Linked DNA regions of Homo sapiens: all the other regions are linked to region 2. Evidence: promoter capture Hi-C in 16 types of primary human blood cells and fetal thymus (Javierre and others, 2016). All regions are on one chromosome and are shown on one strand. The core of a region is centred on a gene start or on the middle of the fragment in contact, and the rest is flanking DNA. Distances in the headings are between cores, read along the strand shown.

Evidence for each region. The method cuts DNA at HindIII sites, captures the fragments that hold promoters and counts their contacts. A CHiCAGO score of 5 or more calls a contact.
Region 1: a fragment that was not itself captured here is called in contact with the fragment with the promoter of CEBPZOS in region 2 in 1 of 17 cell types (monocytes); the score reaches 6.1 in monocytes.
Region 3: a fragment that was not itself captured here is called in contact with the fragment with the promoter of CEBPZOS in region 2 in 1 of 17 cell types (non-activated CD4 T cells); the score reaches 5.8 in non-activated CD4 T cells.

What each region holds. Positions count from the first base shown.
Region 1 is chr2:37,947,506-37,950,737 of GRCh38, forward strand. All of the region lies in intron 2 of RMDN2 (regulator of microtubule dynamics 2), which reads left to right. It overlaps RMDN2-AS1 (RMDN2 antisense RNA 1), which reads right to left. Exons shown (of 4, transcript NR_102712.1): 4 at 2,829-3,032. Among named protein-coding and RNA genes, the nearest start is that of RMDN2, 24 kb to the left of the region's middle. The HindIII fragment of the contact is 2,386 bases long and covers 766-3,151 here.
Region 2 is chr2:37,194,271-37,198,031 of GRCh38, forward strand. CEBPZOS (CEBPZ opposite strand) reads left to right here and starts at 2,226. Exons shown (of 5, transcript NM_001322374.2): 1 at 2,226-2,250. It also overlaps a transcript of SULT6B1 not described here and the pseudogene RPL31P16. RefSeq lists a silencer at 2,060-2,199. The HindIII fragment of the contact is 5,744 bases long and covers 510-3,761 here.
Region 3 is chr2:37,923,580-37,926,975 of GRCh38, forward strand. It overlaps RMDN2 (regulator of microtubule dynamics 2), which reads left to right and starts at 1,708. Exons shown (of 11, transcript NM_001170791.3): 1 at 1,708-1,846. RefSeq lists a silencer at 1,523-1,762. The HindIII fragment of the contact is 1,233 bases long and covers 742-1,974 here.

The sequences.
Region 1 (3,232 bases), core at 709-3,208, 750 kb after region 2:
AGTAACAAACTACAAACAGGGAACTTATGTGGAGAGTTTAATGTTGTAATGAAAGGAAATACAACAGTTATCCTGGTGCTAATTTAAAAATGAATGTTGCTGTTACTGTCCACAATCAGGCACATTTGATAAACTATAAAAACAACTAAATTAATGTAATGAATTGAATAGTTTGTATTATTATTGAAGAATGATACTACACTCAGATCAGCTAAAGATGTGCATTTTTCAATAGCTGAATTCAGAGTACTTCACGATATTTGTTTTGAATAATGTAGAAAAACTTAAATTTGTCAATTCAAGTTAACTCAGTCAATTTTTAGTTTGGGGCATGTTCTTTGTGTTAAGGATTCAGTCCCAGTCAGGGTTCTCCCCTTGTGCCCCCTACTTCTCCCCGTGTGTAATGTAGATTCTCTGAAGAGACTTGTCATCTAGGTACCAGGAGGGGGACATTCAGTCCTAGTATTGTTCACTGTCTTTTCTAGACTCCAGCTTAGATAGGCAGCTGCTGTGAGGTACCTCAGAAGACGCTTCTGCCTTGACTCTGGGGGTCGTCATGACCCGTATGTTCTGGAACACAGCTACTCAAATTGTGGTCTGTGGACCAGCAACATCAGCATCCAGTCTTGCCTGTGAGAGTGTGGGAAATGCATGTTCTTAGGACATACCCCGGACCTAGCGAATCAGAATGTCTGGGAGCAGTGCTCAGGAATCTGCATTTTAAGAAGCTCTGTGGGTGACTCTTATACACCCTAACATTTGAGAAGCTTTGTTCTAGAAGATTTTCTAACATCCACATGAGCAATCATGATGAAATTTTTGTTGTAATGAGTGGTAATTATGGTTACAGATAAACAAAAGGTTCATTGGGCACAGTGAGTATAATGATGGAATACTGACCTAGGTGAGAATAGAGTGGCTGTTGCAGAAAAGGAGGAGGGTTGGGTGGCCATAGGGCATGATAAAAGCAGAAGGTACCTGGGGTCATGGAATTGATAATAAAGAGAATTGGGAATGAATTGAAGGACGAACATGTTTTAGATGCTTGTCATTATAAGGGGTTACTATTTGCTTTTGGGCTAAGTCTAATTTTGGTTCTCTTAAAAAGCCAAAAGGAGGCAATTTGCAGACATTTAGAGGGTTAGGTAAGTTCTTCACCTAGAACGATATTAATCAGCTTCTAGATATTTCCTGTACTGGTATGAGATTTCTTTTCTGATGTCTGAGCAGATCTGGATCTTCTTCCTCATCCCCCAAATGCGCACACACCTAAACACCGTTTTTTGTGTCTGCATAATCATAGATTTGCTTGAATAAGGTCGGGGGAGTGATCTGACCTCTTTATTACCTCGACTGAGCAGCAGTGATTGACAGTGTTGAGATTTAGTTACAAATAATTATTTCCTTTGGGGTAGCTCAGTGAGCAGATGCTTCTTTTAGAGGCCATTGGTGGGAGTGTTAAACAACAAGCTGGCCCAATTTTTCAAAGAAAAATTTTTTATAGAAACTTTATAAGCATTACGTATTATGTTCTTGCAATGTGCAAAAGAGATCCTTTTGGAAAATGACAATCAGACCTTAGTGCGGCTTAGGAACAAAAGACAGTAGTCTCACAAGAGAGGGAAAATGTAATAGATTGCTACAGAGACAGACAGTCCTCCTTGGGCTTCTTGTGCTCCCAGACATCTTGCTACATGAGCCATACATGTAAGGCCCTGATCATTCTTTATGTGGGCCATTTTTCAGGGTTCTGGTGAGCAACCTTGAAGAATGAGTTACTGTTTCCCTTCAGGACCAAGAGCAGGTTTAGCAGATTTGCTTACTACTTGCTATAGAAGTGGTAGATCATCTAAGCTCAGCGTTCTTTCCTGTAACACAATCCACTGTGAAGGCAAGTGTCCTTGGGCCCTCTGCATTGCCCCTGTGGCAATGTGGGACAAAGGAGAACTGATGTAAATGTCCTGGTGATTATGCTGCTTTGCTATGCTGTAAGTAACATAAGTCTTCTGTCTCTAACCCACGAATCTCATGTCTTCTGCCAGCATCCATGATACAGTAAGAGATTACTTTATTAGTTTGTATGTAAACTAAAATCAAATTACAAATCCGACCATTGTATGGTGAACGTTAGAGAGCTTTGGGTCTCTTAAAAGGAATTTGTTCAAGGGTTTCCTGCAGTAGGGTGTTAGGAAGGGAGCAAAGGCTAGAGGCGGTAGTAGTATTTAGGATCAGGAAATTGCACAGTAAATAAAAGTATTTGAGGGGGTGTTTCATGTCATAGGTAAGTATACACATACACGTATACCTGTTATGGGGACAATAGCCCAAATTGGTTTAGATAAGAAAGGACAGTGTTTCTTTTCTAATAACTCTATTAACCTTGCATTTAGGTGAGTATCAGTTGTTCTGAGGAGTGATAAATAGTGCCACAGCATATCCCCGTAATCTGTGCAAATGGCCCAAGCAGTCAGATGGCATACTTTACTGCCAAGGTGAACGATGCTTGTTTCCTTTGTGGTGGCAATGACATTTGCTACTTATTAAACTTTTTTTCCCTTCTCAATGTATCTTTAGGCCAAAGTCTCTAACATTTGCTTTTCCGTATCACTGAAGGATGCAAAAATCTGGGGTAAAGAATGTTCAAGTGAAAGAAGAAGGAGTTAGTAGTACAGGGGTGTGGAAGGCAGCTGGTGAGAGAGATGGTCCAAGGTGAGAGAGATGGTCCAAGGTAAAGGATTGTACAGCTGTCATATATGTTATTGTCCTTATCCAGCTGTTTTCCCACCCCTGGATTTGTTGGATGACTCCTCCAACAGTGAAGGTAGAAACACATTCCACAGCCATGTGAATTCCAACTTCGGAGAAAGGTGAGCTACAGAACAGTTCTAATATAAACTGATGTCATGAGATTCTAGAGTCTGCTGTCATCACATTCTGTGTTATTGCCATGTTAACTCCACATGCAGCTTGAGCATTCAGTCTTCTGACCTGTTCCACCTCTACAGGGCATTTTATGGCTTAAGGATGACGGCCTAGAAGGGAAGGGAGAGACTTACTTTGGATTAAATTTACAATGGGAAAGTGCTTAAGGTAAGCCTTAGAAAAAAACTTCAACATGTGCTAAAAGAACATTGAAAATATTCATAAACGAAGCTTTAGTGCTCTCCTTTGTTTCCCATAATAACTGGATATCCTGGACTGTCCAGATATTCACTTGAAACATTCTCCCCAG
Region 2 (3,761 bases), core at 976-3,475:
GGTTTCACCATATTGGCCAAGCTGGTCTTGAACTCCTGACCTCAAGTGATCTGCCCATCTTGGCCTCCCAAAGTGCTGGGGTTACAGGCATGAGCCACCGTGCCTGGCTGACTATCTGTAGATTTTTGAAAGTGGTAACAGGTACATAGGTAATCAAAGTACAGAGCTTATTTGGTGAATCTTCATCCTCATTACATCCTCTGGACAGCTGCACGCGGATACGGTACGGGACATTCCTTATTCCTTTGGCAAAGACAACTTTATTGAGCCTGGTATCAATGCACACATCTGGAGTTCCCATCTCCTTCATTGCAAAATTTCCGGATCTCTTTGAGTGCCTGAGGGACATGCTTCTTGAAGCCCACTCTGTGGATGTGCTTGTGAATGTTGGTGTATTCTTGGGTCATCACCTCGTTGATGGCAGAATGGTCCATTTTCTTCTTGCCACTGTTCTTTGCAGGAGCCATTCTGCTAGGCCCAAGTTGGTAAAGCTTGTTATCATTTCTTTAAGCTTTTTTTCTCCTCTTTTCTTTTTTTCAATCTGAACCATTCCAATGACCTTTTCTTCTTTCTCCTTCCTTCCTCCCTCCCTCCCTCCCTCCCTCCCTCCCTTCCTTCCTTCCTTCTTTCCTTCCTTCCTTCCTTCCTTCCTTCCTTCCTTCCTTCCTTCCTTCCTTCCTTCCTTCCTTCCATTTTTGAGACACAGTCTTACTCTGTCGCCCAGGCTGGAGTGCAGTGGCACGATCTTGGCTCACTTTAACCTCTGCCTCCTGGGTTCAAGCAACTCTCCTGCCTTAGATTTCCGAATAGCTGGGATTACAGGCATGCTCCACCTCACCCAGCTAATTTTCATATTTTTAGTAGAGATGGGGTTTCTCCTTGTTGGCTAGGCTGGTCTTGAACTCCTGACCTCAGGTTATCTGCCCACCTTGGCCTCCCAAAGTGCTGGGATTACAGGTGTGAGCCACCGCACCAAGCCCCAATAGCTTTTTCATCTTGCTTTGTCATCCTGGTACTTTTAACACTGATATTCTGGTATTTCAAACCAATGTAGTGGAGCCTTGCTATATGGTCTGAAAGTTTTTGTTCTCCCTAAATTCATATGTTTTTCACAATTTATGATGCTTTAGTTACACAGATGAACCACATGGGCTGGACTAGGGGTGGGGCGGGTGTTAGGAAAATTGGGGCAATCACAGAGCACCTTGCAGAGGCACTTCCTTTACTTGGCGTGGACAGAGTTAGCTCCAGCTATCACCCCTTCTCTAAAACCTTTACAGATTCCTCGGATTAGAAGCAAGGCCCTTATCATTGTGTACTTTCCATCAGTTATTTGTGGTAAATACCCCTAACTAGACTAGAACTTCGATGAAGGTAGATCTGTGCCTGTTTTGGGTGTTCCAGGCTTTGTCTTGCACACGGTACTTCAATATACTTTTATATTCTTTTTCTCTTCTCTGTTTCCATGTCCCCTTCGCGCTTTCTCAAGTGTTACTTTGCAAACGAATTCTTTAGGGATCTGGCTAAAATGCAGTTTCAGATTCAGTAGTTCTGCATTTTTTTTTTTTTGAGACAAAGTCTCACTCTGTCGCCCAGGCTGGAGTGCAGTGGTGCGATCTCAGCTCACTGCAACCTCCGCCTCCCGGGTTCAAGCGATTCTCCTGCCTCAGCCTCCCCGGTAGCTGGGACTACAGGCGCATGCCACTACGACCAGCTATTTTTTTTTAAACGTATTTTTAGTAGAGACGGGGTCTCACCGTGTTAGCCAGGATGGTCTCGGTCTCCTGATGTCGTGATCCTCCCATCTAGGCCTCCCAAAGTGCTGGGATTATAGGCGTGAGCCACCGCGCCCGGCCTAGTTCTTCATTTCTAACAAGTTTTCAGGTGATGCTTATGTTGGTAGTCCTCTGAGACTATCACACTTTAAGTTTCAGGGTGTTAGAAAAACGACCCAGAACAGGCTACACGTAGTCAGTTTCCTGGGTTTAAATGTGAATTCTGATTTTACTAACTGCGATTGTGGGCAGTGTAAGCCTCTTGCTTTCTCCGTAAAATGAGATACACTCAGCACCTGTTGCATGTGTTATTGCGAACATTCCGTAAAATAATGTACATAGAGGGCAGTCAGGTTCGGGTCGCGGTCAGAGTACAATTAATAGTAATTACGAATGTGGGGGCGGAGCCGACAACGGAAGGGGTGGAGCGTCGCCAACCGTTGCGCATGCGCAGTCCCCCTTGAACGCACCTCAGGTAAGACTCTGGCGAGTGGCTTCCCATGGGCGGTCGGATTTCGGGGTCCCTAGTGCGACGAGAGTGGGGCGGTCTTCTGCGTGGGGCCTCGTCACAGTTCTGGGGGCATGTGGAGGATAGTCAGGTGTCACTGCCTTAATTCACTGGAGGCGAGTGTTTCCGGGTCGCTAGGCGGCCGTGGTCTGGCGGCCGGGCCGTGCTCCGTGCGTGCCCGCGCGTGTCGCCTGCAGGCCCGGGCCTAGCGTTCCGCGGGCTAGGGGAGAGCTGAGGGCAGCCGAGGGCACCAGGGAACCGGGGGAAGCGGGAGCTGGGTGGGACCGCGGCAGGAGCCGGGAGCCGGGGGAGCGGAGGCGGCCAGCTCTCGGCCTCTGTTGAAAAGTCGTCCTCTGCACAGCTAGGCTGGGAGAGACGTTGCTGCTTGAAACCGCGTAGCCTGCAGACGCTAAGCTGGGAGGCCGCCCCGATTCCCTGGAGCGCATCCCGGGATAAGGGGCTTCCGACCCAGCATTGCACATTTGGCTTGAGCTTGTGTCCCCGAGTCAGCGTCTCAGCCCCGTGTGATGTTAACTGCATGACACACAGCCCTGCGCCGAATCTGTCAGAGGCGGCTTCGTGTTAAACTTCACCTAAACTTCCCGGAATGATGCCTTTCCCTGTGCCGAGAAGGCAGGCGCTGGTCTGCCGTGTCTCCCTTGCCGCAGCTAGTAAACCTCACTTCTTTGTGGGTGGACAGGTGTATCCCTGGTGGTCTGTAGCAAAGGAACTTGAAGTTTTATCAGCCTCCTGAAGCCGAGAGCCTCAGTGCAAAACGTATATGTATTTTTAAAAAGGTAAATACTTTGTTGTACGGTGTTATTTGGAGGCAGCTATGCTCACCACTATACACCAAGGCAGCCGTACAGTATTATTCGCACTTTATTTTCTTTTCTTTTAACCCTGGCCTACAGATGGACTTTATTTCTTAGCACCACCCTCTCTTAAAACAAAATTTTACTTCGATTCCTTGAATAATGGAACTGGCTGCAGGCGGTCTTTGTTCATTCCTTGAACATTAAAAATAACCCCAAGAGGCCGGGCGTGGCGGCACACGCCTGTAATACCAGCACTTTGGGAGGCCGAGGCGGGAGGATCACTTGAGGTCGGAAGTTAGCCTGGCCAACATGGTGAAACCTCATCTCTACTAAACATACAAAAAATTAGCCAGACGTGGTGGCACACGCCTATAATCCCAGCTACTCGGGAGGCTGAGGCAGGAGAATCACTTGAACCCGGGAGACGGAGGTTGCAGTGAGCCAGGATCGCACCACTGCACTCCTGCCTGGGAGACAGCAAGACCCAGTCTCAAAAAAATAAAAATAGGCCAGGCGCGGTGGCCCACGCCTGTAATCCTAGCACTTTGGGAGGCCGAGGCCTGTGGATTGCCTGAGCTCAGGAGTTGGGGACCACCCTGGGCAACAGGGTGAAATCCGTCTCTACTAAAATACAAAAAATTTGCTGGGCCTGGTGGCGGG
Region 3 (3,396 bases), core at 108-2,607, 730 kb after region 2:
GATCGGTTTATATCATATTGTATTCTAGTTAAATAAAGCTAGCATTATATTGCAAGATTGCTGCAAACCATAATAAATAGGAGTGAAGTGGGTTTGTAGAAGGTAATATTTTACTAGTTCCAAATCTGAGAGGTTAAAGATTAATCTGCTCTTTTTCCAAATACAACTTAGGTTTTTGCTCTTGTTTTTTGAGACAGAGTCTCATTCTGTCCCAGACTGGTGAGCAGTGGCCCGATCTCGGCTCACTGCAACTTCTGCCTCTGAGGTTTAAGCAATTCTCATGCCTTAACCTCCCGAGCAGCTGGGACTACAGAAGTGCGCCACCACACTCGGCTAATTTTTGTATTTTTAGTAGAGATGGTGTTTCATCATATTGGCCAGGCTGGTCACGAACTCCTGGCCTCAAGTGATCCGTCCGCCTCAGCCTCTCAAAGTGCTGGGCTTACAGTCGTGAGCCACTGCGCCCTGCTACAAATTACTTTTAATAAAATGACCATGGCCAGGCTTACTTATTCTTCAATGCGGCTTGCCTGAAGCTCAAAAAATCATCTTAAAGAGCCTATAGAATCCCTGAATCCCTATCCGTAAACAGTAGTATATGGATTGCAAAACAAGCCTTCTGGATTCTTCATGGCTTTATGGGTGTTGTCTGCTGTTGCTGTTTTGAGAAAGAGTGTACCCATTTTTAATTCTGCTCAATATATTGGTGGGAAGTTTAGAGATTAATGTTATGCAAACCTAAGCTTGAGGCAGTAATACTCAAGGTGCGGACAATACAGAAGCAGTGTATGTACTGTTTTGTTTTTGTTTTTGAGACGCTCTATCACCCAGGCTGGAGTGCGGTGGCGCGATCTCGCCTCACTGCAACCTCTGCCTCCGGGTTCAAACGATTCTCCTGCCTCATCCTCCCAAGTAGCTGGGATTACAGGCGTCCACCACCACGCCCGGCTAATTTTTTGTATTTTTAGTAGAGACAGGGGTTTCGCCACGTTGGCCATACTGGTCTCGAATTCCTGACCTCAGGTGATCCGCCTGCCTCAGCCTCCCAAAGTGCTGGGATTACAGGCGTGACCCACCGCGCCCGGCCCAGTTTTTAAGAGCGTATTTAGCAGAATTAGTTTCATTATACAAACCACAGAAAGCTGGGTAAAACCTTAAATGTCAGGCATCTGAAAAAACAGCGGCTTTCATCTAAAGGCAACTCGGAATGGCGGGGAGAAGGAAGAGGCTGTCAAAATTGCTCATTAAAAGAAAACGTGAGATAAAGCTATGAACACGGGGCTGCAGATATCAGTAATTAGTGCAAGGCGTCTGCCTTTAATTCAGTCGTGAGGAGTAAAGTGCAAGGTTGTGCCTAGAAAGGGCACAGAAAAAGGTTTAACTAGGGGAGAGGGAGTGGGTTTGAGAGCCGGAACGAAGCGAGCTGGCGGTGGGCGTGCGGAGTGGCAGCAACGCGAGAGGGAACGCGCTGGGGCTAGCGCGGAGGCCCAGAGCCCAGGCGGGGGAAAAGGTGCCGACCGGCTTCGAAGGGAGGCGACGGCCGAGACACACGGTCCGGCGCGAGCCAGGCGCCCCGCGACGTGCAATTTTATTTTGCAAAAGGTGCACCCAACGCCAGTCCCGGTAGAGTTGAACCCACCACGAGAGGGAGAGGGGGCGGGAGCGGGGGGCCGAGCGGCCGCGGGCTCCTCCCCCGGCGCCTCCGCTATCTGGGTCAGGACGCGACGGCCGCGGCGCGGGACCTTAGGACCCGCGGGCTCCAGGGCTACTGTCCGTCCGCCACTGCGCGCCAGCAGGTCCTGGTCTCCGCTCTCCAACAGCTGAAAGGCCGGCGCAGTGAACACAGGTGCGTGCGCAGTCTGGGAGGGGGCTGCTCAGCCGCTGGGGGCCGGACCGCGCCGGGGACTTGCGGAGGGAAGCGGAAATACTTGCGGTGGGGGCGACTGCACTTCCGGGTCGGTGTGTCCCTGGCGAAGCTTGAGCCTGCTAGCCAGCGGTGCTCTGCGTTCCCGGGGCTGGAGCAGCGGCCCATAGTGGCTTCCCGGGTTCATCCCTCGCTGACCCTGCGCCACGGAAGCCCTAGCCCCGGAGGTCGCTGGTATTTCCTCGCACGCGGACCCTTCTGGGGTGCGTGGGGAACAGGCAGTTTGCTGCCTCGGCCCGGCTGGTCCCTGCAAACCCCAAAGAATTTCAACAGAGACACTTGCTGGGCTCTCGCTCGGCTTTCAGCCTTGCGCAAACATTTTGTTTTTGTTTGTGTGGGGTTTTTTTTGCTCTCAGACTCCGTCTGTGCCTATTTCACACAAAAACGAAGGCCGGATTATCAGTGCTGCCAACATAGGGGAATGAGGCAAACACTTGGGAGCCCTAAATTTAAAATAAATTATAAAATACAAAAAAACCATGAAAACCTGATGAAATGAACAATAGAATTCACTTCGAAAGTACCAGGTTTTCCAGGACGCTGTAGGAAATCTGATCACTAGTTCAAGGTCTCAGTGCAATTCTCTTAGGAAACTTAAACCTCGGGCTTTTTTGTAATGTCTCTTTATCCTTGCAAAATTTGTCATACCTTCCCCGAGTTTATTAGAGTTATGCATTTTATATTTTTCTCCTCTAAGGGTCTGCTGATGAAGTTAATGAATATCTGTGCTAGATTTATGGTGAAAGCATTATAATTAATTTAGTAAAGCATAATTTCTACATCAAAAAATTAATTTTAAATAAAACTAGAACATGGAAATGAAATGTTTCTTCAGACATTTCTTCAGAAAACATTTCATATTCTATTTTCTTTAGAGTCAACATTTTGATGTCATTTTAGAATACTTGATTCTCATCTCAACCTTTAATATTACACAATAATACACATTAATTAAGTGCCATAATCTATATTAAAATGTCATTTTCCATTGTTATTTACTAGCACCTTACAAATTGAAACGTAACATAATACTTTGTATCTGATTATTAAAATATTAGAGTTTTAAAATCTGTTTGGTAAAGTTTTTAATTACTATATTTTTTTATACTACAAGTGTATACTATTAACATAATTAGAAGTATGAAAGCTAACAAGGCTGGAGGCAGTGGCCCATGCTGCTTATCCCAGCACTTTGAGAGGTGGAGGCAGGATTGCTTGGGCCCAGGAGTTCGGGACCAGCCTAGCAACATAGGGAGACTCACTCTCTACAAGTAATGTAAAAATTAGCCGGGCGTGGTTGCCCACGCTTGTGGTCCTAGCTACTAGGGAGGCTGAGGCAGGAGGATGACTTGAGCCCAAGTGGTCGAGGCTACAGTGAGCAGTGATTGTACCACTGCACTCCAGCCTAGGTGACAGAGCGAGACTCTAAAAAAAAAAAGCTATGTAAATGACTTCATACAACCTTTGAAATT